7 separate regions of the Homo sapiens genome follow, and all the other regions are linked to region 1. Evidence: promoter capture Hi-C in 16 types of primary human blood cells and fetal thymus (Javierre and others, 2016). All regions are on one chromosome and are shown on one strand. The core of a region is centred on a gene start or on the middle of the fragment in contact, and the rest is flanking DNA. Distances in the headings are between cores, read along the strand shown. Region 1 holds the start of ADI1 (acireductone dioxygenase 1). Region 2 overlaps RNF144A (ring finger protein 144A). Region 3 overlaps RSAD2 (radical S-adenosyl methionine domain containing 2). Region 4 holds the start of CMPK2 (cytidine/uridine monophosphate kinase 2). Region 5 overlaps LOC105373404 (a long non-coding RNA gene). Region 6 overlaps SH3YL1 (SH3 and SYLF domain containing 1). Region 7 overlaps LOC105373404 (a long non-coding RNA gene).

Region 1 (4,417 bases), core at 1,288-3,787:
GGGATGACAGAAGCCACCATGCCTGGCCCAGGAGAGGTCACTGTTTTGGACTGAGCCCCTGCACTAGGCCCCAGGATGAGACCAAACCAAAATGCAGCCACTCATGCCATATGCCACTTGATCAAACTAAAACTTTAAAGAAGGAGGTGCATCTCAAACAGACCAGCTTTTCCTGCGATCAGAAGATTCCAGTCTTCCTGAGTCAGAATAATAAGGAAGTCGCTTCTGCTTTAACCCTTAGGAAAAAAGTAACCTAATGTAACTTGACGTTAACCAATCAGCTTTTCTACCTATTGTTCTGTTTCTTTGTTGCCGCCCTACAAAACCCACTGTTGTGCTATTACCCTATCGAGCTCTTATTCTATTTTGTAGAACGGAGGTTGCCCTATTCACAAATCAAGAATAAAAGCTAATTAGATCTTTAACTAAATTTGTTGTAATTTTGTCTTCCAACAGCACTGATCCAGAATGGATATTAAGAAAGCATATAGGCCGGGTGCGGTGGTTCGTGTCTATAATGCCAGCACTTTGGGAGGCCGAAGTGGGTGGATCACCTGAGGTCAGCAGTTCAAGATCAGCCTGACCAACATGGAGAAACCCTGTCTCTACTAAAAATACAAAATTAGCCCGGCATGGTGCTGTGCACCTTGTAATCCCAGCTACTCGGGAGGCTGACACATGAGAATGGCTTGAACTCGGGAAGATGAGGTTGCGGTGAGCCGAGATCATGCCACTGCACTCCAGCCTGGGCAAAAAGAGCAAAAAAAAAAAAGAAAGGAAGAATATAAAAACACACAGGACATTAAAACCACAGAGTAAACATGATTTAATTTTGATAGCCCTGACTCAGAGCAGAACTAGACGGTAGGAAAAACTATGTTTGAGCCCATGTAATAATCTAAAAGATGTCTATTAAAATAAATCTTATTTTATTCTTTGAATACATTAAGAAGCTGACCTGTAATCTCACTCTTGTTCTTGTTCTTAAAACCGTCAAATGCACAATGAAACTCCCCAAGTGTATTAATTTGAACCCTCTGGTTGTTTGGATTGTGGATAAACATAATAAGTCAAAATTTATTCTCCTCTCATTAATGGAAAACTATAAACCACTTGATTGCTTTGAAGAAGTACCCTCCAGCAAGGTAAGTGTTAAACCTTATCCTAGGAAAAGACAAATACTATGTAAACATTAACATGCATGCCCTGTTTCGCACTGGTATGCCAATTGTCACTTCCCTCTTCTGTTATTTAGGATAGAACAAGATGATATCCAAATAGATTATGCTGGAATATTCTATAATCCTTTCCCAAGGGAAAAAGTGTGGTGTCCAGGTAACCCTGTGTATTTCATTTAAATCACATGAATGAAGATTAGATCCAGTCACCCCTCAGCCTATCCCTGAGGCCTACCCTGGCCCTCTCTTTTGCAGTAAACCTTTGTTACTGCAAAACCATTTGCAAATAAACAAGGTGAGCGGATCTGGACTGGTGCTGTGCAAGCAACGGGACACCGGTGCAAAGCCTAGCCCCGCCTTGCAAAGCTAGCGTTACAGAGGCAGGGCTGACACCGGGCCCAGCCGGGACCCAAGCCAGCTCCACCGCCCACTGGAGACGCCCCCACCCCACCACCGAGCGCTACCCCCCGGGGATCCCCGACAGACCGCGGCAGGACCCCGCCTCGATCTGCTGGCGCCCGGTCCCTCCCCCAGGACACTTTCAAGCGGAGTCCCCCTTCCTCCGATAGAAGAAACCCCTGGGCCTTTGACCGAGGTTAGCCAGGCAGGCAGGGCGTCGGACAAGCCCAACGAGCCCACGAACTCGCAGCCCGCCTCCGGCGAATCTTGCAGCCCTGCCGGCCGACCCTTCAGGTCGCTGCCAATCCCGGAGCTGCGCGTGCGCAGCGAGTCCCGGCTGCGAGGCCCCTGACTCGCCAACTCTGCTGCTGAGCATGCGCAGCACACCCCAGGCAACAGAAACGGACCGCCGACCCCCACCAGCCCCGCTGCTGAGCATGCGCAGCCCACCCCAGGCGCCGGAAGCCGACCGCCAACCCCGTAAACTTCGCTGCTGAGCATGCGCAGCACACCACAGGCGCTGGGGGCTGACCGCCGACCCCTCAACGCCGCTGCTGAGCATGCGCAGCACACCCAGGCGCCGCGCAGGAGGCCCTGACCACCCAGCCCCACTGCTGAGCATGCGCAGCCCACCCCAGGCACCGGGAGCCGCCACGAACCCCCAAATCCCGCTGCTGAGCATGCGCAGCATGCCGCGGCTCCCAGGCCGCTGCCCGGCACCTGGAGGAGGCTGGGCTGTGCGCGGCGTTTGGGGGTCGGCGTCGCCCGCACGCTCTGCGAGGCTTGGGCTCGCGTACCTTCCAGTAGAGCACCCCGAGCCGCCGCAGCTGCTCCAGGCCCACTGGGCGGCCGGGGTCGGGGCGGTGGGGTTGCCGCGGGTCGCCCGGGGCGTCGTCCATATACCAGGCCTGCACCATGACGCGCAGTGCGGGTGCCGTGTTCGAACCCAGGGGCCGCGCTCGGAGCCCGTCGGCCGCGCTTTATCTTATAGGGAGGCGTGGACGCGCATGGGAGCCGGGATTGGGCGGCTGGTTGGAGGCAGGGCCGGCGCGGGGGAGGCCCCACGGCTCCGCTGTTTTCGGAAGCAAAGGCATTCAAGCCCCGACCCTGTCCTGGGCACCCTCGGACCTGCCTGAGGCCCGCGGCCCGGGGCCAGCCGTTCGCCAGACGCGCCGGGCAGGTGAAGCTCACCGTAGGCATCGCACGTGCCTTGTGTGTGCTGCCGCGGTCTCCCTGCACCTTCAGAGCAATCTTGTGAGGCAAACGACGTTAAACGTGTTTAGAGTATGGAAAGCAAATGCAAAAAAAAAAAAAAAAGAATAAGGATTTTGTTAAGCTCATGCAGTCCATATGGGCACAGTTGAGACTTCACAGCTCGGATCCCAGGTGAGACATTGTCCTCCACCTCCCCGCTCGCCAGACTTTTGCAGTGTCGGCATTCTGCAGTGCTACCCTGTACTTTTTAAACTTCCTCTTGTTTCCTCTTTTCATCGTTTCTCCCTTCCCCATACACTGTAATGTGCTAGTCTTAGAATAAAAACAAGCTTCCCCTATCCCATTCTGAATTTTTCAATGTAGCTAATAAAGTCCAGCCGCTTGACCATCCTAGATGTCTTTTCAAACCAACGAGTTGAAAAAGATCAGATTATCTCAGCCATTCCCTCAGTCTCTTTAACAAATAACGATAAAGCAGACAGGATTTAAATGAGACTGCTGTAAGAGCACAACCCCAATGCATGCAATTGACTCTTGAACTTCCAGAAATATTGCAAGAAAAATACACACTTATTTCATTTCTGTTCCCTTGCTCTAATGGCTTTGCAAATACATCCTCCTTAGAGAGCCTACCTCTCCACCTCTTCACTTGACCAGTTACTACTCATCCTTCAAGAACACACCTTAGACGCCATTGCCCATTTTTCTGCAGCACTCATGACAAACCTTCATGCAAGAATCTAATGGCAATCTCGCACCTCGCATTTTCTCCTTAAGCCACTGCAATAAGGCTTCGCTTCTCACCACTGGGGAACTGCTAATGACTGCCATATTGCCAGATCCAATCATGGCACTTCTGTTCTTACCAGCAACATTCGTCACAGTTGCCCACGCCCTTCTTGAAACATTTTCTCATTTTCCTTCATGAGGGCATCTTGGCTGCTCCTTCCCAGGCCCCTCCTAGCTCCTGCTCCTCTAACCACTGGTTAGTGGAGCGTTCCAGACTCTCCTCGTCCTGTTCCTATCCACTCACTCCAGGCGACTTTCCATGCTGTGCTGCCGGCTCCTGCAGCCACATCTCCAACCTGGACCTCATTCCAGAACCTCAGGCTTGAGTATCCAGTTGGTGTTGTCACATACATGGCTAATCAGTGTGTCAAACCTAACATGGCCAAAACAACTGATTCCCCACACACACCCCCAAACATGCTTCTCCCTAACCTTTCCCGTCTCAGTGAACGGCAGCACTGACTGCCCAGTGGCTTAATAAAAAAATCTAGGTGTACTCTCAGTTTTGCTTTTCCTCACCCTCAAGATCCAATCCAATCTATCAGCAAGTCATGTTGCTTTGACCTTCGAAACACACCGCAAATCCATTCACTTCTCTCCAGCCCAACTCTTTCTGCAGTCTTTTCTTGCCTGATGGAATTGACTACTGAAATTCCCCCTCCTCACACCGCTTCCATTTTTGCCCCAGTGCAATCCATTCTATGCACAGCACCCAGAGTGACCTTTTAAAAATAGGAGCCAGATGCCAGGCACTGTGGCTCACGCCTGTAATTCCAGCACTTCGGGAGCCCAAAGAGGGTAGATCACTTGACCAGCCGAGGCAACATGGTGAAACC
Region 2 (4,417 bases), core at 1,438-3,937, 3.5 Mb after region 1:
TGCCAATGCATCTTCTGTACTCTGGTTGGTCTTTTTGGATAAAATATATGTTACAGTGATTTTAGGATGAGCTTTTTGCTTTCATTTGCAGAGACACTAGGCAAACCTTTGGACTACATTTTGCCTGACAGTGGAGTCTTCTTGTTGAGGCCTTCACACAGTTCTTGGAAGAATTATTCTGTTAGTCAGGCAGGCTCCCAGAGTGGAAGATTTCCATTACAGTTGCTTGTGGTGCAAAAGCAATCGGTTAAACAGAATTTTAGAAGCTCGTGATAACAATTCACGAAACTTATCATAGCGCATGTTCTCCTTGCTACACAGCAAAAGCTTCCACACCTTATATCAAATGTATTTTAATAGTCACATGTCTGAGGTTATGGCAGTGCTAACCTAGTGATTGTGTGTAGCTAGAATATTCAGTCCTCAGTGTCATCTCTCACTGGCTTAGTGCTAAACTAGAATATAGATATTTTAAAATCACATTTAATATTTGTTATGATGTAGCCAACATTCTTTTGGGGCCAGATGATCCTTCGGGGCTTAATGAATATGGGGACTTCTAAGTCAAGAATCTGGGGTTTGGGTCAAACTCAAATCCCAAATTTTATCTATCGGAAAAGATAAATGAGTGTGTGAGGTTTACTTTTAGTTAATCTCATTGAATTTTACTTGTTTTTTCTGTCCATTCAAGGAATGAAAAAAGAAAATGAGTGCATAGAAGCCGGAAGTAGGACGGTAGTTTCCCGGGGTCTGCAGGGAATGGGGAGATGTAGGTCAAAGGGTATGAAGTTGCAGTTATACAGGTTGAATAAGTTCTAGAGACCTAATGTACAGCATGATAATTATAGTTAATCATACTGTTTTGTATACTTGAAATTTTCTGTGAGGATAGATCTTAAGTATTCTCACCACACACACACAAATTGGTAACTCTGTGAGATGATGGATATTTAATTAGCTTGATGGATTTATGATGTATACACGTATACAAAAAATGAATATCAAAACTTCACATTGTTCACTTGAAGTATAAAATGGACAGTCTTTATCAATTATAACTGAAAAAAGCTGAAAAATAAAACACAATATTTATCATTTTAAAAAGTACAGAAAAGAAAAATGAAAAACTGTCTTCAAAAAAAAAAAAGTGTCTTCTGAATTTAACTGCTGTTGTATGTGGATGGTGTAGACGGCTTCCCTGTGGGTTTTTCGAATGCCTGGATTATAATCTGTCACTCGAACAGTCTCTCCCACCCTGTACACTGATGCATTCATCTTTCTTGCATAGCTTTCAGACTGTATTTCATTTGCACCTCATGATGTCCTTGGTATGTAGGCACAGCAAATATTTTATCTTTGTTTTATAGATAAGGAGAGGGAGCTTTACAAACATTTACATCTGTGTCTTCTGTTTCTTGTTTATGCTAGATTCAGCCTTTCTTAAGGGCAGAAGGATTTCTGGCCCATTCTGTATCCACCTAGCACCTAGTTTAGTGCAGGACCCAGAAGAGCTAATCAGTAAAATCTCACAGATTGAAATGAAGTGTATTGATCTCAATACTGTAGTTGCCATCCAAGAAATGTGCCTCATTAAAGCACCAGGAAGACAGCTCCAACCTAGAGGAAAGGAAGTTGCTTTTGACATTGTTCTGAGATGGAGAAGGATAGGAGGGAGATTGATCTCCATCCTGTTAACACCGTGAATGGGGCTTATTGTCATTTCTAGATGAGTTAGGATGGTAGAACCCGTCAAGATGGATTCAATAACTAGCCTTATGCAAAATCACCTCCTCTTACTTGAAAGGACATCTTCCCAACTGATCGAATGGCTCCCCCTCTGCCAAAAATGCCTTGTGGGGGGTGGGGGCGGGGGGCATTTGCAGTCTCTGCAGTCGCCTGCCTGCTGTCAGAGGCCATAGCTTGTGTTCTTACCCTTGAAATAGTTCATTCTCCCTGGCTTTTTTGCTGAGGCCTTCATTTTTGTTATTGTTGTCTTAGTTTTCTATTTCTAGAGAATTGTAGTAAAAACAAATAAGCCACTCAAATTGAGACCAAAAGCCTAACCAAAGTCAGTGGATGTGAAGGAAGAAGCTAGCACTGTGTTCTCCGAAAGAGGCTGCTGGAAACACCAAAAAAACAGTGACACTGTGGTGATTTTTTTTCACAACTATTTACCAAAATTTAAAATGTTGAAAACAGTTCCACCTCTGTCCGTAGCTCACTGTAGCGTGAAGAGAAGGAAGCACTTGTGTGTTGAAGATTCAGAAGGGAGGAGGTGTCGGGGTGCCCTGGTCGCTTTGGTGGCGCCTTCCCCTCTGTGTGGGCTGCAGGTCGCCCCAAGCTGGGGGCAGGCCATGGGGAGGAGCCCTGAGTCTGTGGCCAGAGGAGTTGCAACTGTCCTTTTTTGGGGGGTGCAGACATGGGAAGGAAGAAAATTGTCTAAGACTGAAAGGAGGCACTCTTAAAAAAACAGTTATTATGAAATTACAGTTGAGTGCTGAAGTAACTTTATCTCAAGGAGTCCGGGGCTAGAGGGAAAAGCATGGCATTTGGAGTCAGGTGTCCTGGAGCTGAAATGCCAGCTCTATTTCTGCCCTGAGCAGGCCTCATTTACCCCATCTGTATAATGGAGATAAAAATAGTTTACCTCAAAGTTCAAGTGGAAGAACATGTGTGAAGTCATGTGGTAGGCAGTCATCAGGCCTAGTTCTTTCTCATTTTGCTTCTAAGTTTGGGTTTAGAACTGCAGGAATAAAAACAGAGTTTGGGCAGCTCTCCCTAAATGTCTTCTGAAGAACACTTATCTCAAGAGATGGACTCAGAAATGATTTGTGTGGTTCAGTGGGTTTGCTAATGACGGACACCGCATCCTTGTCCACATCCCCCACTACCAAGGCATCCCAGGTGCCCAAGAGCAGGAGGAATGTACCAAGACATCCACAGCCAGAGACATACTGTCACTTACCTGTGTTCCTTCAATGTATTTCAGTGTGAAAGGGACTGGCCTAGCAATTGCTAATATGGCACTCCCCTGAAGCAGGTTCTCCGGGGCTTTCCTTGCTTGCAGGGTGCCTGGTGGATTCTTCGTGATTCTCTGGAGGTCACAAGAGCCTGTGCACATGTTCCAGGTGCTGTGCTAGGCCTTGGGAGCTTGGGGATGATGAGAGCTACCAGATATCTTAAATTGTTCCATTTGGATTAGTGTGAAGTCTAACTTTAGAAGGTCAAATGTAAAGCTGAACATTTGTGTGCAAAATAGTGACATGTAAGTCTAACCAACAAGTTCTGTGCTGGAGCACTGGCCAGAGAGAAAGGATTGTGGACACGTATTTTGAAATCAGGCTGCCGTTACCCACCATGAGGGCCAATCCCGTGTTCGTTTTGTCAATCAGAGATGCAACCTGTGTGTAGAGTGACCTGGGAAATTCCTTATGGGCTGAAATCTAAAATGTAGAAGATGTTTTAACTTAAAATGGGACATATTAGAGCTATTTAGGTCTGTCTTATACTTGTGGCATTTGACAGTTACACTGAGAATGTTAATATGGTGTTACTGCTGGCAGAGTTGTTTCCATTCAGACAGCTGCTAGAAGTAGAGATGATACTCTTATCCCAAAGGTGGGAACATGTGAAGCTCAAAGGGAGGTGCTGTGGTCCCATCCCAAGACACAGGTCCCTAGTTATCTGGGAAGGTAGAAATGTCTACATTTCTATTAGTTCTTAAAAAAAACAGTCTAATGAAAGTTATTTTTTAATGATGACAAGATTGAATAAGCCAAATAAAACATACATATACACATATATTTTATATATATATTGCGTTTATATATATATATATAATTTTTTTTTGCTTTGAGTTAGAATTAAATCTATTTTTATACCAGCTATTTATTGGCAATTAGGAATTTTGCCATTAGAACCCAGATGACAGGATTTTGATATATAACCGTAGAAAGTTGTAACTTAAAAATGTAACATTTGGCCAGGCACAGTGGCTCATGTCTGTAATCCTAGCACTTTGGGAGGCTGAGGCGGGTGGATCACCTGAGGTCAGGAGTTCGAGACCAGCCTGGCCAACATGTTGAAACCCCGTCTCTACTAAAAATACAAAAAGTATCTGGGCGTGGTGGCGTGTGCCTGTAATCCCAGCTACTCAGGAGGCTGAGGCAGGAGAATCACTTGAACCCGGGAGGTGGAGGTTGCAGTGAGCTGAGATCGCGCCATTGCACTCCAGCCTGGGCAACAAAAGTGAAACTCCATCTCAATAAATAAATAAACAAACAAAAGTGAAACTCCATCTCAATAAATAAAATAAAATAAAATTAAAATAAATAAAAAAATAAAAGTGTAACTTTTTGCCCAGGCACAGTGTCTCCTGCCTGTAATCCCAGCATTTTGGGAGGCCGAGGTGGGAGGA
Region 3 (4,417 bases), core at 1,918-4,417, 3.4 Mb after region 1:
GCCTGATCCTGTACTTTATATAAATGAAATCATACAGTGGGTCCTATATTGGATCTGACTTCTTTGCTCCACGTTACATTGGCTTAGTTACCCAAAGCTGATTGCTCAAATGAGAACCTGACTTCCCATTCCCAGTGTGGCTTAACTCAAATTCCTATCATTTCTCACCAGGATTACTGTAATTCAACTCACTGTCTCTGCTTGCCCCATTGAAAACTCCTGATCTTTTTTTAAAATGTACTTTTGGTGATTTAACTCCTAACTCTCCTTCTTATGAGCATCGTTGTCAAGGCCCCTGGCAAGCTCAATGTTGCTCTCAGCCTCTGCTACCCTGATGGCTTGGGTCCCCTCTGCTGTAGACACAGCCTGTCACACTCATTTTCTCCAAACATCAAAATTGTTAAAATGATGGTCATATTGTTGTCTCTTCCTAGAATGTCTGTCCTCAAATCTTGTTGGTGAACTTTCAAAGTTCCTTTGAATTCTCCTTGATCCTCTGCAGCCATAATTATGCCCTTTACTTTTCACTTATGAGCTTATAGCAGTTGGTACAAATATGTCTTGCAGCTTTTTAAAATGTACTATTTTGTTCAGTTTTTTTTTTTAATGTCTGGTTCCTCAAAGAAATTGCATTCCAAGGTTGAATTTTACCCTCCTGTGTGTCTTCATGCCTGACAGGATGTCTAGAAAGTAATAGAGGCTTAAGAAATGTTTTAGATAAATGAATGAATGCATGAGTGAGTGAATAAGGAGATATGTCGAGGGAAATTACGACTTTCATTCAGAAAGCCAGGGTTTGAGTTTCTGCTCTAACATTTACTAGATTTGTCAAGACATTTAGCTTTTCTGAGTATCAGTTCCATGATCTTTAAAATTATCTTTAGATAATAATGATAACTGATAAACCAATCTCAAAAGTTGGTACAAGGCACAAACAAGTGAATGTTCATGTATTTTTGTCATAAAAGATAAATTATTATTAATAGTTATAATTAATACTTTTATATAATAACCTCTCAGTTTAAGTAAGTAAAACAAAAGTTAATTGAAATGCTTACATGATAGTGTAGGTTGTATTTTCCTGTAAGAGAGATTTCTAGATAATGGAGGAAAACTATTTTTTTGGTTGTAAGAATTAAAGAAAGAGGAAAGAAACACAAAAGGTGGCTCCACAGTCAAGGACAGGTTTATTTTAGAGAAAAAAAACCTGAGAGGGGCTTCTGGCTGAGTTAAGTCAGAGCCCACTCTCTTACAGACTAAGAGTTTTAAGGATTTGGCGTGGGAGGGTTTATTAGAGACTTGGACTGCTTCTGTTTCTCTTTGTTGTGCTTATCTGGGAGGGAGAGTTGTGTGTCTGTTCCCGTACATCTTCCTGCAGCTGCAGGCATACCCACCCTGAATCTGCTTTTAGCTTCCCTATCTTAGAACACTAAAGAGAAACTAATGTGCTTATTTAGGCCCACTGTTTTACTGGGACCCATTGTATGACAGTGAAGTTTGGCAGTTACCTAAAAGACTTCCCCTCAACCTCCCTCTGTGCTCAAGCTGTCTTGTCTGTGTTTTACTGTCTGCTCTTTCTGGCTGCTTGTGGTTAGAAGATAAGTGATTTCCTTGAAATGCATGAGGCTAGAAAGGGAGCTGGAACTTAAAGTGGTGGTGTTTGTCTGAGATGATGGTGTTCTTGATCTGTCAGTGGTAATTAAAGGTTTAAATTCACATTGAAATTTAAATTTTAATATATATTTTTATATATTATATTTAAAATTAAAATTTACTATTCTGGCTAAAGATGCTCCTAAAATATATTATTTACTTTCCTGGCTTTTAAACTGTTTTGAAATTCTATTCAGAAAGACTGAATAGAATTAAAAATAATGAGCATCAGATCTGGGCTGTAATATGATCACTCATGTATGTTAACACTATTGTAAATAAATTACTCCTTGTCTAAGATATTAATTATGCCTCTAAATTCTATTCCTTCCCTTTTGTTATTCTTCCATCCCTTCTAAATATACTCCTCAAAATTGTTAGCAGTTTTGTGCCACTGGCCAGGACCCTGTCTTACTTTCTCCAGTTTATCTGCCACTATATCACATCACCACACTTCTTAGGTAATTATGTTTTGTTTTGTTTTCGGGTTATAATGAGTGTCACTCAAACTGCCTCCCAGCATGATGGATTATAAATAGGGAGGTGATATAATGCCTCACTGTCCAATCATAGAGACATCTGAGAGTGAAAGGGGGCACTAAAACTCACTCACAGATACTGTTTCATCTACCATAAACCAAAACTGTTCCAGGCACACCAGCCTGGAGGCTTCTCTACTTATAAAGACTCTAGGCTTTGGAGTCTAGGCATGTACCCTAGCTCTACTTTTCTCTAGCCTTATGATCTTCAGCAAGTGTTTAACCTTTCTTGGCTTCAATTCTTCCACTAAAAACCAGATAATAATTCCTTCCCCATGGGTTATTTAAGGGTTGAAAGCTTTAACCATATTACCTTGGGTGATGTATGGTGAGGCCAGATACAGATTAATAGAGACAAGAAAGAGGTTTGCACGGGTTCATTCTCCTAGAATGCAGGCAGGCAGGTGTATGACGCACAGGCCCATCCTTCTAGAATGCAGACTGGCAGGTGTATGTTGCAAAGGTCCATCTTCCTAGAATGCAGGCAGGCAAGTGTGTAACGCATAGATCCATCCTTCTAGAATGCAGGCAGGTGGGTGTATAACGCACAAGCCCATCCTCCTAGAACGCAGGCAGGCAGGTGTGTAATGCATAGACCCCATCCTCCTAAAATGCAGGCAGGTGGTTGTGTAATGCATAGACCCCATCCTCCTAAAATGCAGGCAGGTGGGTGTGTAACGCATAGACCCCATCCTCCTAAAATGCAGGCAGGCAGGTATGTAACACATGCAAGAGACATGTTTTCTTCTCTGAGAAAACAAAATGACCCCAGAGTAAAGACCAAGGATATTAGCAATTGGAGGTTTTCCTATGAATAAACCAGTTTACCTCTCTGTCTCTCTGTAGTGAAACCCTCTTTTGGACCAGCCCCTCCCTTCATCACAGAAATTCCATTCTGCTATTTTGTGCCATACTGAAATTTGAATGAACAAATAAAAACATCAAAAGAAGAGGCAGACACCAAAACAAATACACAGAGAGTATGTAGGAAGAAGAAAACGTCCAAAAAAATCTATAACTAGTAATTGCAGAGAGATAAGAGAAAGAATTGCATACATGAAACAAGAATAGAATGCCTGGAAAGGAATAGTCAGAATATGGAAGCATCTGGGGAATGAAAAATGGGGTTTCTAAAATTAAAATCTTAATAGAAAGACGAAAAGTTAAAGTCTTAACCAAAATGAGACCAAAAAATCAGGATAGACGTAGGAAGGAAGATGATGATAAGAAAATAGTGGTTAAATTTAGAAACTCCAATGTTCCAGTAATAGAAGTTCCAGAAAGATGAAAAAGTAAAAATTGAGACAAGGGGTGAATAAGCAAATAGTAAAAGAAGATTTTTCTTTATAACATAAAGAGCTATGATTTGAGATTGAGGCCTTCCAGGTGGCCAGACAGTGAATAGAGAGAGATTCCTAGGACACCCGGTCTTGAAATTCCAAAACATTAGGAAGAAAGGTTCTGGAGAGAGAAAAAGCCATGCACTTACAAAGGAGTACAAACGAGGGTGTTATCAGGCCTCTGAACAACAGCATTTAAAACTGAGTGAAAATGACTTCACCTAGAATGTGATACCTGGACAAACAATTGATCACCAATGCATTTTGAGGCATACAAGTCATCACTTTAATTCCTGCTTTACGTTTTTTTCAGGAAGCTTGTAAAGGGATTCTCCAAAATAAGGGAGTAGCCCAAGAGGGTGGGCGATGCGGAATCCAGGACAAGGAGTGGGGATGGGAAACGCAGAGTCAGGAGGAGTGTCATTCTCAGGCTGGCAGCTGGCCCGTGGACAGTCACGCCACATGGCAGGCATGTGGCTTTATGCTTTGCAAATCCTGGTGCTGCCTCATTGTACCCTTTGGTGTCTGAGCAAGTCTATTCATCTGTGTAACCAGTTCCCTGCATCCCTGTTTAGATCCCGAATTAAACATATGCTATTCCCATTGGGTGGGATTGGTGTTGGGAACTAGGGTTAGGGGAGGGGAAATTAATGAGAAAGTTTTATTTCTTTTTTTTACATTGAGAAAATACTACTTTTGCTATTAAAATAATAATGTATATTTGTGAAGTGGTAAAATTCATGTATCACCTTGCACAGGTATGGAGAAGATCAACTTTTCAGGTGGAGAGCCATTTCTTCAAGACCGGGGAGAATACCTGGGCAAGTTGGTGAGGTTCTGCAAAGTAGAGTTGCGGCTGCCCAGCGTGAGCATCGTGAGCAATGG
Region 4 (4,417 bases), core at 535-3,034, 3.3 Mb after region 1:
CAGACACTTATGTGCTTGCTCTGAGCATGGCAATCTTCTAAGTGCTTTACAAGTATTCAGTTGCCAATCTCTGTGAACTGGGGTGGGGGGGTGCTATTATTATTCCCACCATATGAATTAAGGAAACTGAGGCAGAGAGTTGAAGAAACTTGCTCAAAGTGACACAGCTAATAAATGCCAGAGTTTAAATTTAAATACACGTGGTTGACCTTGCGCTCTTAACTGCTCCACAACGCTGTCCCGTAAGCTTGGAAAATATTCCCAAGATCCATGGGGGCATCCTCAGGGCTCATCTGTGTCACAGGAGGACATCTGCCTAGCCTGCGATCAGAAAGAATTTTCAGTCTCTTTCTGTGGGTACCTGCTGTGAGTCAGATGTTTCCTTAATCAGGACAACATCGCAAGATGGGAATTGTACATGTCAAAGGGCAAAACTTAGAGTAGTTGAGTAACCTGCACAAGGTTCATGGCCAGTCGGTAGGTAAACACTATTTAAGTCTAAATTTCTTAAACCCCCTAAACTCATGCATTTTCTTTTTCACCCCAAGATCCTTGAATGGTGATCATCAGCAAATAAAATTACTTCCCAGCTGACATTATTTTCCCTCACTCCCGGCAGCCCCTTTACTCCCTCTGTACTGCTGTTGGGATGCTTTTACAGCAAGCATCGCGTGGCTTGGTGTAGGTCTATGTTCCACGTCAGGTTGGAAGATCCTTGCAAACAAGAATCTTAAAAGAGTTGCCTGGCATACAGGACACCTTCCCTACCTGATTTGTGAACGGAAATAAACAAACCACCCAGGCAAGAACCGGCTCTACAGACCAGCCTCTTGGTCCAGTTCTCTGGTCTGAAGGGTTCAGATGCCACGCTGGGAGCTGGAAGCGGACAGAACTCTTACCTCCTCCAAAACGGCCCGGGCGGCTTCCCGGTCCGGGAAGACCACGGAACTGGGCAAGTCTGGCACCACCGGGTGCAGCGGGGGCTCCGGGACGGGCACGACCTGTGCGCAGCCCACCTGCAGCCGCCTGCCGTCTTGCACCTCCCAGAGGCGCTGCCACAGCTGGCCGCGCGGGTCGGCCTCGAACTCGCCCAAGTGCGGGCGTGGTGCCTCCTGACAGGCGCCCAGCAGCTCGAGCAGCGCTTGCCGGGTGTCAGGGTCATCCAGGGGGTCGCGCAGCAGGAAGCCTTGCTGTGCGCCGCCGGCCTGGCCGCCCGGGCAGTAGCAGAGCAGCCTGAGCAGCTGGCACCGCTGGAAGGGGCCGCGGCGCAGCTGGTGCAGCAGGCGCTGGTGCAGCCGCGCCGCCCGGACCCGGGCCCCGCAGCCGGCGTCCGGGGTCACGGGCACGCACAGCGAGTAGCTGCGCTCCGGGGGCCCCAGCAGCGCCGCCAGGCGGGGGTCGGGGGCGTCTGCGTCGCCGGGGGCGTCGGCGCCTAGGGCGAAGTGAGCCAGGGTGCAGTCGGGAAGCTCCAGGACGAAGCGGCGCGGCGGAGCCATGGCCCCAGCGCAGACCCCGCGCCGCCCGAGCAGCGGCCCCGACAGTGGCCCGCGCAGGAGCCGGCGGGCGAAGGCCATGGGCGCCTCAGCGACGCCGCCCTCGGCCCCGCCTCGGAAACGAAACCTGGCGGGAGCCAGGCGCCGGCGGGAAACGAAACCCGGAGGGAGCCAGGCGCCAGCGGGAAACGAAAGCGAAGCGTTGCGGGGAAACGAAAGCCGGAGGCCCAGGCGGGGCAGGAGCCCTGGGGCTGGGGCGCCCTTCCGGCCTCTCCTCCTCGCCGCGAGATGTGCGCGATAAACGGCCGGCGCTCGGGAGCAGACGCTTGGCCCCGGGGCCCCAGGTGCGCGGCTCCGCGGGCCTGCGCGGTCCCCAGGCGCCGGCTCCCGGGGCTGACACCGAATGAGGCCCCGCGCCGTCGGCCCCAAGGTAGCTCCGTGTGCGTTCTGCGGGTGGCTGGCGGCCCCGACCCTGGTTTGAGTTCCTCCTCTGCGGCTTATGCCGGGTGCATGGAGGGGGGCGGGGGTGCACGCGCGAGGGACAGAGAAGTCCCTTCCCGGTGTAACGGGCTCTTCAACGCCCACTTGCAGGCGCACTACTGCCCTTGGATGACTGACCAGGCCCTGCAGACCATGGGCTCCCTCCCCGACCTCAACTCCTAGCTCTGACCACGCGTCCCCGCCCCTCTAATCCTGCAGAGCTGCTTTCCTGCGGGAACAGGGCGCAGTTCTGGCTCTTCCCTCTCCTGTATCTTATCTCACCTGTGCACTCACTCACCTGTGCACACACTCACCTTTGCACACACTCACCTGTGCACAAGCTTTTCCCTCTTCTTGGAATTGCCCTCTCCCTTTTGCTGACTCTCCAACTGGGAAGTGTCGCCCAGATTGGCACCTCGAAATCGCCTTTCTTCCACCAAATTGAAGTTTCCTGCACTAAGGTGAAGTGTGTCAGGATAGCACCCTCTGCCTGCCACAGTCCAGCATCAGCACTGTTGCTGCCTAACAGTGTAACTGCCTAACAGTGTAACAGTGTTTGCGCAGTTATTTGGATATTTTATTCTGTGTTTACTCATTAACTGATGCCTTTTAAAAATGATGTCAAGCAAACCAAAAACAAACAAAAAGATAATATTCTCCAGGGAAACTCTCTCAAAAAAATAGAATTGAGACGAAGATTGAAAACATTAGATGAGCTGAAAGCAGTTTTTTTTTTATGTCTTAATAGTATTGGACTTAAACTTGGGATTATATTTAATTCTGAAAAAAAAAGTCTTAACAAACGTGAAATATAGATAGGTGGTTGGAGTGTGGGTTAATAGGCTAAGAAGAAAGAAGAATTAGGAGTTTAAAATTTTTTAGCTCTTTGAGAATAGAATAGTTTTTATTCTTTCTCAGGAATTTCACTTTTGGACATTTAGCATGTACCGGTGGTTTCACGTGTATGTAGTATATGGAAGTAAGAGTCTTCTAGTTACTCCCTTTTCTTCTCTAAGACAGTACTGCATCCTCAAGCCTGCTTGACCTTTTCCCTATGCCATCCACCTCTCTGGATGTATTAGTCTATCCTGGCTGCCATAACAAAATACCACGGACTGGGCCGCCTAAACAATAGAAAATTTGTTTTCTCAAAGTTCAGGTGGCCAGAGAAGCTGGAGATCAAGTTGCCAGCAGGGTTTGCTTTTTCTGAGGCCTCTCTTTCTAGCGTGCAGACCGCCTCCTTCTCTCTGTGTTCTCACGGGACCTTTCCTTTGTGCTTGCATCCTTGGCGTCTCCTTGAAGTTCCAAATTTCCTCTTCTGGGAAGGACACCAGTCAGATTGGGTTAGGGCCCATCATAATGTTCTCATTTTAATGTAATCACCTATTGAAAGCCTTATTTTGAAATACAGTCATACTGTGAGGCACTGGGGGCTAGGCCTGAGCATGAATTTTGGGGGACATGATATAGCCTATAACCCCCCACATATCTGGGTTAGTAGCCTCTCCTGTGTCCCCCACCAAGGCTATTTGTATCCTCGGACCTTGACACTCCACAGTCACGTGCCAGTCTATTTCCCACCACTGAGCACCTTGAGGGTAAGTAGGAAGACCAGCTTCTTCCTAACTTTTCTCTGAGCCTCCAACTGAAAGAAAACCTGACACACAGTTTGCTAAATGAAGCATCTTACCTTTTTTAATTTAAGTTTTCCTCTCTATTTTTCACCTACCTTCGCCCTACGAAGAGATGTAAAGTTAATAACACTGCAGTATTTGGGCTTAGTCAATATTATATAAGTGTTGAAGATGTTGAAGATATATCTTCATTCATAAATAAAAATTTCTGTTAGATTTTCAAGCCCCTTCAAATTTGTAGGACAGAGACTCTGAGAGCCACAGCTGGATGTTTATATTGACTAAACATGCCTGTAGCCACCCATCGTTGCAGGTGGAAAGGAGAGAAGCTGCAGGCTGGGAAGATACTTCAAAGAGGTGTCTTTAAATGAATGAACAGCACAGCTATATCATAGGAAAAGCCATAATCTTCAACACTTACAGTATTAAACAAGAGAAAATGAAACTTTTCTAGCCATTCTGCTCCTAAGAAAAAAAGAAACAGAATGGGAGAATTAAAAATATAAATAGCAATTAATAAATAATAAAATGAAAAAATAACACTTTGAAAAAGAGCTTAGTTTTTGAAAACATGTTTAAACAGATATGTTTCTAGGTAGTTTAATTCAATTGGAAAAAGAAAGAAAATGCAAATCAGAATAGGAATAAATGAGATGATAGAACCACAAGTTCAAAAGGATACCCAAAAGAGAATATTACAAACAATTCCACATTCATAAAAGTGAATATTATAAAATAAATGATGAGCTCAGAAAATAAGAATTAATAAAATGAGCCCAGGATAGAATGTTGAGTCTATAACTCTGTAAC
Region 5 (4,417 bases), core at 1,172-3,671, 3.3 Mb after region 1:
ACCTGGCCCTCATGGGACTCCTTTACATCAAGTACTCCTAAGGGAAGCTGCAGGGTTCCTCCATATCCTTGGTCATGAATCATAATCCCAGACTAGTTAAGGCATGTCAGACTGACATGGTTTGGCTCTGTGTCCTCACCCAAACCTCATCTGAAATTGCAATCCCCATGTGTTGAGGAAGGGAGGTGATTGAATTATGGGAGCAGTTTCCCCCATGCTTTTCTTGTGATAGTGAATTCTCACGAGACCAGATGACTTTATAAGGCAGTTTCCCCTTCTCGCTCACACACTCTCTCTCTCACCTGCCACCACGTAAGAGGTGTCTCTTCCCCTTTTCCCATGATTGTAAGTTTCCTGAGGCCTCCCCAGCTATGCAGAACTGTGAGTAATTAAACTTCTTTTCTTTATAAATTACCCAGTCTTGGGCAGTTCTCTGTAACAGTGTGAGAATGGACTAATACATAGTCCATCCTTATTCCAACCCTCTCATCTTCTATCCTTGATCCTTTTTCTTGCATATCCGTTCCTAGCTCTCCACCAAACCTTTCATGCAGCTCTAGCTCGCATGTTGGCTCCTCTTGACACCAGCTCTGGCTCTACCACCCAACAACACTGCTCCAGCCCCCACAGATCTACATACCCAGGTTCACGTACCCTCAAAACATTCACAGTGGGGCTCCCTTTGAGACACTTGTACAGGGGACACCTAGATGACCACCACAGCTTAGCACGGTGATTCACATGAAGTCATTTAGTATTGGTTGGATACAACTGTGGCCAAAAATGAGAGCCCTTAATAATTAGAGCAAGATGTTCTGCTGGAGTATGAATGCCTAGCTCATAATTTCTACTCACTAATAAAAATCTTGACAAATATCTCATATTGAATAGAGCACTGTGTTGTTATGATTTGGAAATGTCAATCTCCATTGAATGCATTTTACACCAGGAAGATCCCTGGAGTCTTATTCTTTGTAGCAGGATGAGCGTAATGAAGCCAGCCAGACTATGTCAGGAACAGGACATCCTAATGCATCATGAAGAGTGGATGGCCTCGCTGTAGCCTCTACTTCCCCTTCAGCATTGCTCTCTAGAGGGGCTGCATTGGTAGTAGCATCCTGCAGAAAAGTCAGCTCATCTAGCTGCACACGAACCAACCCGATACTCTTGCACATTAACTCAAGCCTGTAATTCCACGTTGAATTTCTCATGGCATTAGGAAAGCACTCAGGCATCTCTCCACGGAATTACAACCCTATTATGTACAATTGAGTATACATTACTCCTTATTTTCATGTCAATAGCTTGGATAAGGCTATTACTAAAGCACTGGAGTATATAAGAGTTACATACTTAGGGGCAGAAAAAGCTGAACTGGGAAATTAAGATGCAAAATATGAGTGAGTAAAAGCTATATTTTTGTGACACATTTATATCTCAACTGGAGTAATTAGACAAATATGAAATGAGACAAATTGTCATTTTATTTATTTCCATTTTTACTATCATCTAGTCAGCTTTTAATCTGTATTCACCTGCACAAAGTATGCATTTCAGTGGTCTTATCTCTGGGAAAGGCAGGCAAACTGATGCTGCCTCCTACAATATCTAGTTTCCTTTCAAGAAAGCAGAGGGGTTATTGTTTGCCAATTAAAAATAAAAGAACAAGCCTTAGGGGCCAGACTGGGAATAAAGTGGAGTTTTTCCCCAAAATTTTAACACTTTTTTAAAAGTGACAATAATAATAACTGCCAGTTACTGAACTATTTGGGATAATATTTCAGAAAATGAAATATGGAGCAAGGCTGGCAGTTAAAATAGAGTCAATAAGGTTCAAATCCCGCTCTGTCATTAATTATATCTCTCTTAGACTCACTTCTTCATCTGTCAAATGGGGTTTGACATGGGGTTTTTAAAGAATTAAATGAGACGATCTATATGAAAAACTTAACCCACTATATGGCACATAAGCACTTAAAGCTTGTTATTTTCAATTATTACCGAATTATTAATTTAGGCAAATCATAGTCTTTTTGAACCTCTATTTTCTTACCCACAAAATGGGAATAATAATACCTATGCCACAGTATTATTATGAGGACAGCAAATGGCAATGGTGGCAGTTGCTACTGTTAAGTGGGTTGAGAAGCCGGGCAGGGTGGCTCATACCTGTAATCCCAGCACTTTGGGATGCTGAAGCAGGAGGAATGCTTGAGTCTAGAAGTTTAAGACCAGCCGGGGAAACATGATGAGACCTCCATTTCTACAAAAAAATATAGAAATTAGCCAGGTGTGGTGGTGCGTTCCTATAGTCCCAGCTACTTGGGAGGCTGAGGCACGAGAATCACTTGAGCCTGGGAGGCAGAGGCTGCAGTGACTTGAGGTCACACCACTGCACTCCAGCCTGGGTGACAGAGAGAGATCCTGTCAAAAAAGAAAGAGACCCTGTCAAAAAAGAAAGAAAGAAACCATCCTGGCCAACATGGTGAAACCCCGTCTCTACTAAAAATACAAAAGTTAGCTGGTTGTGGTGGCGGGCACATGTAGTCCTGGCTACTCAGGAGGCTGAGGCAGGAGAATCACTTGAACCTGGGAGGCGGATGTTGCAGTGAGCTGAGATTGTGCCACTGCACTCCACCCTGGGCAACACAGTGAGGCTCTGAGGAAGAAAAAAAAAAAAAGCAAGAAAGCAAGCAAGAAAGAAAGAAAGAAAAAAGAAAGAAAGGGAGATAAGCGAAGGGAAGGGAAGAGAAAGAGAGGGGAGGTGAAGGAAGGAAAGAAAGAAAGGAAGGAAAGAAAGAAAGAGAGAGCGAAGAGAAAAAAAAAACTGAAGAAGAAAAAAAGTGGGTGGAGAGCTTAAGGCAAGCTTCCAGGAGGATGGAAGACTCTGGCGACTTCTTGAAGAAAGAGAAAGATACTGGGGTTCACCAAACAAGAGAGTGTGCATCCTGAAGAGTGCTCCAGATGCCTTCTCCAGCTATGATGACAGCACCTGAGGGTGGAAGGGAGGCCCTAGAAAGGGACCAGAGAGAACCGGGATGCCAAAATCATGGGACAGAGGGTGTGTCTGCAGCACAGCTTGGCAGGAGCAAAGAGATACAGTCAGAGAGGACTTGACCCACACTGGCCCACAGGTGGCAGCCTAGGGAGACCCGCTGCCCATGGAGAGGGAGCCGTCAGATGATCAAGTTTAAGTTGATGGCTGAAGGAAGGCAATTACTGGAAGCAAAGTGAGCCAGTCAGCTATCCTGGAGATTCTGCAAATAAAGTGCAGGGTGAGATGAGGACAACTGCCTCTGCGATTTGTCACAGCTGCCCTGGAAGCTCCTTCTGCTACATCATCCCAGTGCTTCTCATTTGGTGGCATTGGTGACACTTTAGTCCATAACCACCATTGTCCATGGAGTCATTGATCCATAGGTTATCCACAGAGCTATGTCCTCCTTGCTGGATAAATGCACAAACTGAAGAAACACATTGAGTCACTGCTAAGGGAATGCCTCAGCTGAGGTCACCAACACAGCATGGTGTGGTGAGAAGGACCAGCCGGCAGTGCCAGGCCAAGCATGTAGGCCAGGAGTGTTGCATGAGGTCAGGAGCCAGGGCAGTGGTGTGGATGGTCCTGCTATGGTTTCCAGAATAAAATGAGATTTTGTTCTTTGATTTTCCACAGTCTGAAATCAATTCTTCAGAACTTTTAGGGCCGAGGCCAAAATGAAAGATGAGATAAAATTACCATAGGCTTCAATTCTGAGTCACAGCTTCACCACCAAACTGGAAAACTGGTGGCTACGAGCATCACTGGAGATATCTCTGAAAGCCAAGAGCACACTTCCAGCTCTGCTGGTCAGTTGCTGCCTACCAAGGGCTGCACTGGGCTCATTAACATCCTGCTCAGAAATGCCACTTGGCTGCAAAGGGAGAAATTGCATCCTCAGAAAATACCTTATGAAAGAGAAGGTTTCTGCTTCTCTCCATTTCTCTGCTAACAGAGACAGTCTTGAAAGGCTACAGGGAGGAGGAAGGAGGAAAGACGGAAACACAGACAGGAAGAGAGACCGTGTTGTATTGACACACGTTTCCAGCAAAATTACCTGGTAATTTACCCTGGCAGTTAAAGAAAAGCATCTGTTTACTGTTGCCACATCAAAATTTCCCCATAAGATTTGTCCGAATAATTGTGGGAGATGAAAACAAGGATATACAGTGGAGGCCTCCATCAGCCGTCAGTGCTGTGCCATGTCTCACCCACTTTTACATCCTGTAATTAAATCAGCGAGCCATTCAGACTGTCTCTGTTTCTAAATTACACGAAATGAGGATCCTTCCAATCACGCCTCACATTCAATTTGTGCTGTCACTCTCTGACTTGAGGAATGGTGAAAGAAAAAATAAAGTCCATCTGGGAATTTTATTT
Region 6 (4,417 bases), core at 1,241-3,740, 3.3 Mb before region 1:
CTGTGTATGGCTGGCCAGGTATTCCAGCACCATTTATTGAATATGGAGTCCTTTCCCCATTGCTTATTTTTGTTGACTTTGTCAAATATCAGATGATTGTAGCTGTGTAGCATGAATTCTGGGCTCTCGATTCTGTTCATTGTTCTATGAGTCTGTTTTTGTACCATTACCATGCTGTTTTCATTACTGTAGCTTTGTAGTATAGTTTGAAGTCGGGTAGCATGATTCCTCCAGCTGTTCTTTTTGCTTAGGATTGCCTTGGCTATTTGGGCTCTTTCTTGGTTCCATATGAATTTTAAAATAGTTTTGTTTTCTAATTCTGTGAAGAATGATATTGGTAGTATAATAGGAATAGTATTGAATCTATAAATTGCTCTAGGCAGTATGGCAATTTTAATAATGTTGATTCTTCCTATCCTTGAACAAGGAATGTTTTTCCATGTTTGTGCCATCTCTGATTTCTTTCAGCAGTGCTTTGTAATTCTTGTTGTAGAGATCTTTCACCTCCTTGGTTAGCTGTATTCTTAGGTATTTTATTCTTTTTGTGTAAAATAGGTGTTTTAAATTGTATAATCTGCCATTTCTCGATCTGTTTTTGACTGATTCTTCTTCCAGCTATGGGTTATGTTTTCCTGTTTTTACTCCTTTCTAGTAAAACAGGATTGTAGATATTACCATGTTGAGTGCCTAGATTTCATTGCTTCCCTTAAAAGTGTTAACACTTGTGTTAGCAGGCAGTGAGTTACTTGTAGATCAGCTTGATCACTTGTTGGCTTGTTGTTGTGTTCTGTTTGTGTGTCTAGAGTAGCCTTTAGAACTATTTTATCCATCAAGGTGTGTCCCTTCTGGGCTCTCTCCTGGGTGCCCTGGTTGTTTAATAAGCTGTCTCCATTGTGGCTGTTTCGAATGGCTGTCCCCAGCCTGATGCAAGCACTGTGAATAGTTCACCTCAAAGCTTCATGGCAGTTGTTCTTGCCTGCTTTGCAAATTTCACCCTACACAGCTAGCACTTAATATTCAGCAGAAGGCTCAGGGGGATCCCTCTGCAGATTTCTGGAGCTCTTTCTCTCAGCCGTCCCTCATTGCTAGTAACATGCTCTGCAAATTCCAGTTACCTCAGCCTCTTCAGACTCAATTTCTGCCTCTTCTTTTAAGCAGGAGCCTGGGCTCTGGGTGCCCCCTCCTTGTCCTGCAGTTTAGGAAGTGCTCCAGGCAGAAAACGGTCACTAATGGAGTTCACCTCCTGTTCCCCTTATCTTGTGGATCTCAGACATGTCCACCATGTGCAAAAAGTGCTCTACACACAGCTGTCCAGTTTCCTAGCTGTTTACCATGTGTGAGTAGCAGGAGCCATTTCGCTGCCCTGGCCAGTAGCTCTCAGTGCATTTTCCATTTGTTCTTTTATGATGAGCAATGCTGACCACATTTCACTCTCTCTATCAAAGGTTTCTCATGCACCTTGTTATTTACAGGGGGTTTCTCTCTGTTTCTTATTAATTTATACATTAAAAATTAATATTTTTTTGGAATATGAGTTAAAAACATTGACTCTCTGTTACTTGTCTTTTGAATTTGCTTTTTTTTCTGTTTTTTCTTAATGAAATCAAATCTGTCTTCTATCTTACAAGGGTCTTTTAATAAAACACAGTAATTTTGAAGTTCAAATGGGAAAATAAACAAGCAAGAAGAGCTAGGAAAAAATATGTAATAGGAGAACAATGACAGCCCAGCCTTGACAGAACCTGTGACACATTACAAAGCCTCAATAATTAATACATAATAGCAGATGCAAATATAGGAGAAAAATCAATTCACAAAGAAGAAAATTCAGAAATTAACCCAAATATATTTACAAATTTAGTATATAATAAAAATGACACCTCAATTCTATGTTGAAATGATGTATTGCATACTAGATAATGTTCATTTGGGGAGAAAAACAAAAATTCATTCACAGCTTTGTGTTACAGAAAGATAAACTCCAAATTCATTGAAGATTTAGAGTGTCAAATATCAAATTATAAAAGAACCAGGAATTATAGAATTTTTTTTCAATTTCATAGTGGAAAAGACCCAAGTATGGCAACAAAATTTCTATATTTCTATATTTTTACATGATCAGCAATTATTTGTACAACGTACAAATACATTGTAAAATACAGGAAAAAGTACAGATATGAAAATATGAAGGATAAAAAGCATCTATAACATTAATACTCACCAATACTACTGTCTGCATTTTGATGTATGCTTCAATTGATTCCTATTGCGAAACATGTAGACTGATTCCACTTTTAGCTTTTATAGCCATTACTATCAGGTGGTAATTATCTTGGGAGAGATGCTCTAGATGCTCAATATGTTTTAATTACATTTATACATATATCTAGATGCTGGATACATTTGAATTAGTTCACTGGAGTGGAAACTTGTTCTTTCTGCTGCTGAATATTTCATCTACTTTATTTCAGAGGCAGCACAACTTGTCTGCTTACATTGATGCTGCAGCCATAGTATCTGGAGTGGATTGGGTGACCCGAGGCTGCTGTATCAGGACGACATTCCTTTTGGTGCCACAGCAGGGCTTTATAACCAAAGCTGGTCCAATACCAGCATCTGATGGGGGACTTGTATAGGAGCTGCCAGAATAACTTTTTCCAAGGCACTTCTGTTTCCACTTGCTGTGGGATTTTTGTCTCCACAAGGGGAGAGTCTGAGAGCAAAGCCTTCATAGGGGAACCTGGCAGAAGGTGGAGAGAGCACCTGGGCTCTGCAAAGCCAGACTGAAGTCACAAGCCGCTCTGGACTTCTTCGTCAAATGGACCAGCAACATCTTTTTCTGTTAAAGCAATTTAGACTAGATTTTCTGATACATGCAACTGAAGCACTGTAAATAATACATGAATCTTATCCCCTCAGAAGACTTTCTACTTTGAACTCTCTCAACCAAGCAGTATTAGAGCAAATAAGCAAATTCCTCAGTTGAGAGTTAATCTTGCAAACATCCTGCTGTAGGGAAAGGTCATGGCCTGATCTGTAAACACGGGAAGAGAGCCATTGGACTTGGGAATCAGATGCAGCCTCACACGGCTGCAGACCGCAAGACTCATCCTAGACACAGCTTATGTCACTGTGATCCAGCTGTTGACAAGGCTGGTCACAGTGAGGACATCTTCAGTGTGTCAGCTGAACTACAGAAAATGTTACAGATTCTAATCAACTTCTGATAAAATCATGCGTGGTCATAGTTACATGCAGTGAATTTCTCTGTCAGAACAAAAAGAATATGCAAATAAAAATTTAGACATAAGCCTCAAATCCCATCCTCAGCATCAAATGATGGCTCACCCATTTTTCCTCTGCTGTACCATAAGGCATATAGAGCATGACCTGATCAGAGTGCTGATGTCCCATTCTATCATACTGATGAAGACACAGGTCATTACTAATGAAGCCTCTTAAACCTCACATCATGGTTAGCATCTGCACTCTCATAAACGTCTTAAGTCCCTTGAATCAGGCAAAATCTCTATAAATATTTAAGTTTTTTCTAAAAAAAGAGTGGCTGCCAAACCTCAAGCTAAGAAACTTTCAAATAAAGTTTTCTTTAAAACAAAAGTTAAAATGTTTTAAATTTTCATAGTAACACATTTTTTTTTTAAATTAGAAGGTCTTATAAAATACCGGAAAGACAATTTTTACTTTGGAAACCTCAAAAGCATAAATCAGCTTAAGATCTGGAAATAATTTTAGGTATTGATCGCAGTTCTATAAACTCAATGCTAGAGTCACTGGGGACAAACAGGGACATGAGAATCCTACTCGGAGTAAATTGCCACCTGAGGTGACAAAGCTGACTACGGTTTCCAATCTAGTTGTACACGGAGGGTCAGGAATGAAAGCAAGAAGACCCAAGGGCCCCTCTCCACCACTTTCCTTACCAGAGTTCAGATTCCCAAACTTTTGCTTCCCTTATATTATTTTCTTCAATGGACTCTAATTATGAAAGGAATACTTACAGGAAAGCAAGCTTACTAAATTTGGTTTTCCAAGTTCTTACTGATTACATATTAATCAAATTATTAAACCTTATACTTTATGTGAAATGGAGGTTAACTCATTAAACTGATAAAATTCCATCTAAGATCAAAGGAACTTGAATGCTGCTAAAGGTATATTTAGAATAAACTAAAGAAATCTTAGCCAAAAGAAAGTGTATGTATCTAATCTTTAGAGAGGCTTTCAAATGTTGCTTTAAGCTACTTTTATTAACAAAACTGCATTTTGAACTCCACTGCTTGACAACTATGGCCTTTGTTTCTTAAGTCAATTCTTACCTTTCTGGGGCCTTGGTTTAACTACTTCCTTTGTTTTAAGGACACAAAGCTTGTCAGTTCTCAAAATAAAAACCTGTCTC
Region 7 (4,417 bases), core at 485-2,984, 3.3 Mb after region 1:
TGGGCTGCTCCCACCCAGGCCCCTGGAACAGCGCATCTTCTGTGACCGTGGTGAAGGAAAATCTCAGCCTCTGCTTCCCACCTCCTCAGCCCCTGCCTCAACAGGAAGCCCACAGCGCAAGAGACGCCATTCTAGGGCCAGGAAGGAAGAGCCTCAGACCCTGGAATTGCCATGTACAAACTAGACGTGTATTTATGGTGTGTCTGAATGTACAACAATTTCCTGTTTCGGAGAAAATAGTTCCTTCCTGGAAGGGCTGTTCTGTATTTGCACACTTTTCCCATGTGATTTTGGGGAAAAGTACCTGACTTTCTGTGAATAGACGCACTTTTTCTTACCGAAAATAATGATAGTTTCAATCTGGCTATAATCGTTCATATTCATGATTTTTTTCGGATGTAGAAATCAGCAGTTTTGCATTGTAAGACCTCACCCATCCACCACTCACCGTCCCCACACCCCTGGGAACAGGAGGAACCTCACAGAAGAAGAAGGTGGATTTTACTACCTACTTGCCACACCTCAATCTCTCTGTCTGTAAGCAGAGAGAATACGGTAATAATAATATTAATAATGATAATAATAATACCTTTCTCACAAGTTCGCAGGGAGGGATGAGTTCATGCACATAAAATGCTCAGCCCAGCACAGCTGAGCACACGATTCTCAGCACTATTACTTGCATTCTTGTCACTGAAAGGAAGAGGGAACGGAGTGTGACAGCGCAGGTTAGACCCCCGGCGCAGCCATCCACCTGCCACTTTGTCACAGGGACTCCACGACTAACTGCCGCCCTATTTTCCCATAAGCAGGCAATGGTGATGATAAAATCATTCTCAAAGCTTAGGGAGGCCAGGACCCAACCCAGGGCCGATCAACGCAAAGCCCTTGCTGCTTCCTATCCCATAAAACCCAATTATTTATGAATGTGAACCTAAAGCCGCATCCTAATTTAGAAGGCATGGAGATAACATGGCCAAGCAGCCGCCTCTCCAGGCAGCGAGATGACTAGGTAGGTCCCAGAGCCCTGAGCATGTCCCCTAGAAAACAACTCAAGACAAGTGCATTTGCATGCCTTCTTCTGTCTCTCTGAAATCACTCAGTTATAGTCACTCAGTGTGTGCTCACAAACACTGAGTCTCCCCTACACGTGATGCATTTCAGTACCAGGGCAATTCGAGTGAGAAACATGGCCATAGCCCCCAGCCTCTTGGACTATCAGAACTCTTAGGAAGTACAAGGATTGAAATATGTGGTCTAACAGCAGAGCGGTATTTTTCTCATTGTACCACCTTGTTGTAAAAAATTGCTGGAGCCTGAAGGAAACCACCTATGGGAAGGGTGTGAGTCAATGGTTCCCCACTTCTGCAGAGTTCCTTCTGAGCAGCTCAGAGCCCACCCCGTGTGGACACATCTCTTACCAAGATGACCTTCCCCTAGCGGGAAACGGAGGAATGAGCAGGCGGCACTCACAGTGCCAATTACAGCAAGGGGATTTGCATAGGAGACCTAACTGCCTGTTTCAATTAGGAGCAGCAACTCCCTCCTTCTTCCTTCCCAAGGAGCCAGGAACACCAGGCATGTGGGTTTGGATTTGTCTGGGAGGAGGCATGACTGTGCGCACCAGAGTGAAAGCCTCCCCACTCACACTGCTCACCTGGAGAGAGGCTCAGGGATCCTGGCAGGCGCAATGTTTGAGAAATGCCCAGGCGAAGAAGATGAATGCTTCCTTTCACCGGGCCCTCCCTGGCTTTAACTCTTCTTAGTCCTGTCTCTGGGAGACCCTGGCAGCCCCTCGCAGCTGTGACCTCTCTAAACTGTCAGCCTCAGATTAACTGATACTTCATCAATTTTGCCTGAACTGCATTTGCAACCCGGTCTCAAGAGGACAGCCAAGTGCATCAACGCTGGGCATTAACCCCCCAGAACCAGATTGCCTTCAAAACGAGGGGGACTTTTCCAATATTCTCACAGCGGCCCGGGCAACAAGCCTAGGGGGACTTTGGCCAGAGGGGAGAGAAGGGGCCTCTGATTATTCCTTGTAAATTTTTCATGAGGACATCTGCCCATACTCTGCGCCTCCTCCAGAGCTGCCCTCTCTCTCTCTCTCCCTTCCTCTGTCTCTGTGTTCAGGCCTCTGACAAGGCATGAAAAACGAGAATGATTGGGCCTCAGTCCCCATTAGCCAGGAAGTGACTGATGGGAGGATGGGCGTGTGTGGTGACTTCAGGCTTGGGAGGGGCCGGGGCTGCCGGGTTTTGAAACAAAAGACCAGTCAGGAATGGATGAGTCCTAGGTGGATCTGCAGATGGAGGCTGTGCTGTGAGTAGGTGGCTAAGGTGCACAGATGGTCATGGCTGATAGGCCAGCCTGGCCCGGGCTCCTGGTTCTGCAGACCCCAGCTCTGGGCTGGAAAATCGGTCCCCGCCTCCCCCATCTTCCCCAAGATTGTCCCCGTCCTTCCTCGGGCAGACCTTCACCGTGGAGCAGAAAGCTGCCTACAATATCGCCCAAATCAAAGCCAAGAAGAATTAGAGTGTAGGGACAGGGGAACAGGGAAGTGCTTTTTTAATTTAAATAATAAAAAATAAAAAATAGTCATTCTTTTGGAAATACTAGCAGCTTACAAGCTTTAAAATCCTCTTTCCCAACAGTTTAAATCAAAAGCCAGCAGCCCTTTCTCATGGATGCATCAAATCATGCAGATGTCCTTTTTGTGCCCCCTTTAAGGTGACATGTGCTTCAATTTATTTTTAATCTTCTAAGTGATGTCATCAGGACGCCGCCCGGGTGACACGGGAGGTGGCTGCTCCTGGGGCTGTGGGTCTGGGCAGTGCAAGCTCCACGCGCACTGACCCCATGGGCTCAACCCAGAGTCCACAGTCAGAAACCGGCCCCGGGCGGCAGGAGACGCTGCAGAGGGAGATTCCATAGAAGAGGTAAATTCATTAAGAAACTCATCACCGAGCACACCTTAGAAATCCCACCTTTTGTGCTCAACGTGGCCGGGTCCCCGGGGACGCCGTTGGCAGCTCTCCATGGAGCAACAGTGCCACCCAGTGGTCAGTCCTCGCGATGCCGCCGCCCGCTCCCCTGTGCGGTCCTCAGCGGCCTGGGAGAAGACAGAGAAAATGAGTTGGTACAAACGCTTGCCCCGAATATCACATCTTTAAATAGTTACCCACATGAAAGAAGGCCTGCAACTGATTCAAAACCACCTCGATGAAAAAAATCTGAGCACACCCATCAAAGGCACTGCGCACAGAACTCAGGAATGTTTTCTGCTGTTTGGAGTTTTCTTCTCCCCTCCTCCCTCCTCAATAACGATACTGGTGATTACATCTTCCAGGGGAAAATAAAATTAAATGCATCGACTTAATTGTTTAATTAGTGTGAGCATAGGTAGTACTATCCAATTCAAAGATCTAAGCAACTGAAATTCCATTTGGAGGGAGTTCCCCCACTACGGGAAAAGGAAGCAGGAGTGTCACAGGATTGGGGATCACACAGATGGAGGGAGAAATCTGGCCCTACATCTCCCGCGTGTGGCTGATGACGATGGGTGAATCCCCTGTGGGCATTCCTGCCTCCTCATCTGTGAAGCGGATCACCTGTGAAGTCAAATTTGCAGAGAAAGTGATTCTAATTGATGAACTCGAAAGAAATGGGAGTATTGTTACCACCCAGCTTCCTTTTGAACCCCTGCCTCTATTCCTAATGCCATTTCCACTGTACCTTTCCGCCTAAATGTCCCCTTTCTCTCTTTACAGACCTGTAAGCGCAACGCAGACCCCGCCCTCCTGCGCCAACAAGCCTCTTCTCCAAACGCTCCATGAAAGCTGATGATTCTCACTTCTAGGTTTTCTGATTGATCACGTTGTCAAGATGGATCTCTGTATTTTCCTGTATTCTTCTCCCCATAGCTCTTTCCTCATATTGTGGATGCTTTAGAAACCCTTATTAGTGAATTGGCTTGTTTTCAAATTAGAAAAACCTGAATGTTAAGGCAGAAAGGACCTGAATCTTAAGGCAAAATACTTGGATCCACGATCTGACTTCATCTCTCCGTATCTGGCCTTATCTCTCCAAATCAACAGGAGCAATCCCTTGATTTAGGTAGAGGGCTGTTATTTTGTTTTGTTTTCATCCATGAAATGAAAGTTTGGGCTGGGGAAAAGTTTGCAGTATTTTTGTTGTAGTTCCTGCAAGTTTTCAGCTAATTACTTAGTGATGCCTCTTAAAAATCTCACATAGTGTGTTATTTCAAAAAGTTATTCCGTGAGTCCTGTAAATTACTAGGTTAAATCGTGTAAAATTGCTGTTTTATTGGCCAAAAATTAACAACTATGAAAAAATGTCATAAGATATAACCTAAAATAGCTCTTCCAGAGAATTAAATCACTCAGTTATAGTCACT

What was found. Contacts are between HindIII fragments. The CHiCAGO score rates a contact against its expected background, and 5 or more counts as called.
Region 2: a fragment that was not itself captured here is called in contact with the fragment with the promoter of ADI1 in region 1 in 1 of 17 cell types (M2 macrophages); the score reaches 6.1 in M2 macrophages.
Region 3: a contact is called between a fragment that was not itself captured here and the fragment with the promoter of ADI1 in region 1, in 3 of 17 cell types (M0 macrophages, erythroblasts and M2 macrophages). The highest score is 14.4, in M0 macrophages.
Region 4: the fragment with the promoter of CMPK2 here is called in contact with the fragment with the promoter of ADI1 in region 1 in 11 of 17 cell types (M0 macrophages, M2 macrophages, activated CD4 T cells and 8 more); the score reaches 15.0 in M0 macrophages.
Region 5: a contact is called between a fragment that was not itself captured here and the fragment with the promoter of ADI1 in region 1, in 2 of 17 cell types (M1 macrophages and M2 macrophages). The highest score is 9.1, in M1 macrophages.
Region 6: a fragment that was not itself captured here is called in contact with the fragment with the promoter of ADI1 in region 1 in 2 of 17 cell types (fetal thymus and monocytes); the score reaches 6.3 in fetal thymus.
Region 7: a fragment that was not itself captured here is called in contact with the fragment with the promoter of ADI1 in region 1 in 1 of 17 cell types (M2 macrophages); the score reaches 8.1 in M2 macrophages.

Annotation. Positions count from the first base shown.
Region 1 is chr2:3,516,994-3,521,410 of GRCh38, forward strand. It overlaps ADI1 (acireductone dioxygenase 1), which reads right to left and starts at 2,538. Exons shown (of 4, transcript NM_018269.4): 1 at 2,375-2,538. The coding sequence starts at 2,494. It overlaps LOC124907725 (a long non-coding RNA gene), which reads left to right and starts at 2,553. Exons shown (of 2, transcript XR_007086195.1): 1 at 2,553-2,963. RefSeq lists silencers at 1,445-1,644, 2,125-2,184, 2,265-2,584, 2,655-2,784 and enhancers at 2,204-2,725, 2,726-3,246. The HindIII fragment of the contact is 6,500 bases long and covers 1-3,119 here.
Region 2 is chr2:6,997,038-7,001,454 of GRCh38, forward strand. RNF144A (ring finger protein 144A) reads left to right here. Exons shown (of 9, transcript NM_014746.6): 3 at 1-24. Among named protein-coding and RNA genes, the nearest start is that of GRASLND, 81 kb to the left of the region's middle. The HindIII fragment of the contact is 4,724 bases long and covers 326-4,417 here.
Region 3 is chr2:6,879,081-6,883,497 of GRCh38, forward strand. RSAD2 (radical S-adenosyl methionine domain containing 2) reads left to right here. Exons shown (of 6, transcript NM_080657.5): 2 at 4,291-4,417. Among named protein-coding and RNA genes, the nearest start is that of RSAD2, 3.5 kb to the left of the region's middle. The HindIII fragment of the contact is 1,359 bases long and covers 2,489-3,847 here.
Region 4 is chr2:6,864,123-6,868,539 of GRCh38, forward strand. It overlaps CMPK2 (cytidine/uridine monophosphate kinase 2), which reads right to left and starts at 1,785. Exons shown (of 5, transcript NM_207315.4): 1 at 900-1,785. The coding sequence starts at 1,574. It also overlaps a transcript of RSAD2 not described here. RefSeq lists silencers at 1,096-1,535, 1,776-2,045 and an enhancer at 1,556-1,775. The HindIII fragment of the contact is 2,067 bases long and covers 246-2,312 here.
Region 5 is chr2:6,788,706-6,793,122 of GRCh38, forward strand. It overlaps LOC105373404 (a long non-coding RNA gene), which reads right to left. Exons shown (of 4, transcript XR_922745.3): 3 at 2,170-2,263. Among named protein-coding and RNA genes, the nearest start is that of LINC00487, 21 kb to the left of the region's middle. The HindIII fragment of the contact is 886 bases long and covers 1,979-2,864 here.
Region 6 is chr2:257,864-262,280 of GRCh38, forward strand. The region is part of intron 1 of SH3YL1 (SH3 and SYLF domain containing 1); the gene reads right to left. Among named protein-coding and RNA genes, the nearest start is that of SH3YL1, 4.0 kb to the right of the region's middle. The HindIII fragment of the contact is 3,075 bases long and covers 954-4,028 here.
Region 7 is chr2:6,770,272-6,774,688 of GRCh38, forward strand. It overlaps LOC105373404 (a long non-coding RNA gene), which reads right to left. Exons shown (of 4, transcript XR_922745.3): 4 at 2,552-3,112. It overlaps LINC00487 (long intergenic non-protein coding RNA 487), which reads right to left and starts at 40. Exons shown (of 6, transcript NR_038369.1): 1 at 1-40. RefSeq lists an enhancer at 2,896-4,095. The HindIII fragment of the contact is 1,788 bases long and covers 841-2,628 here.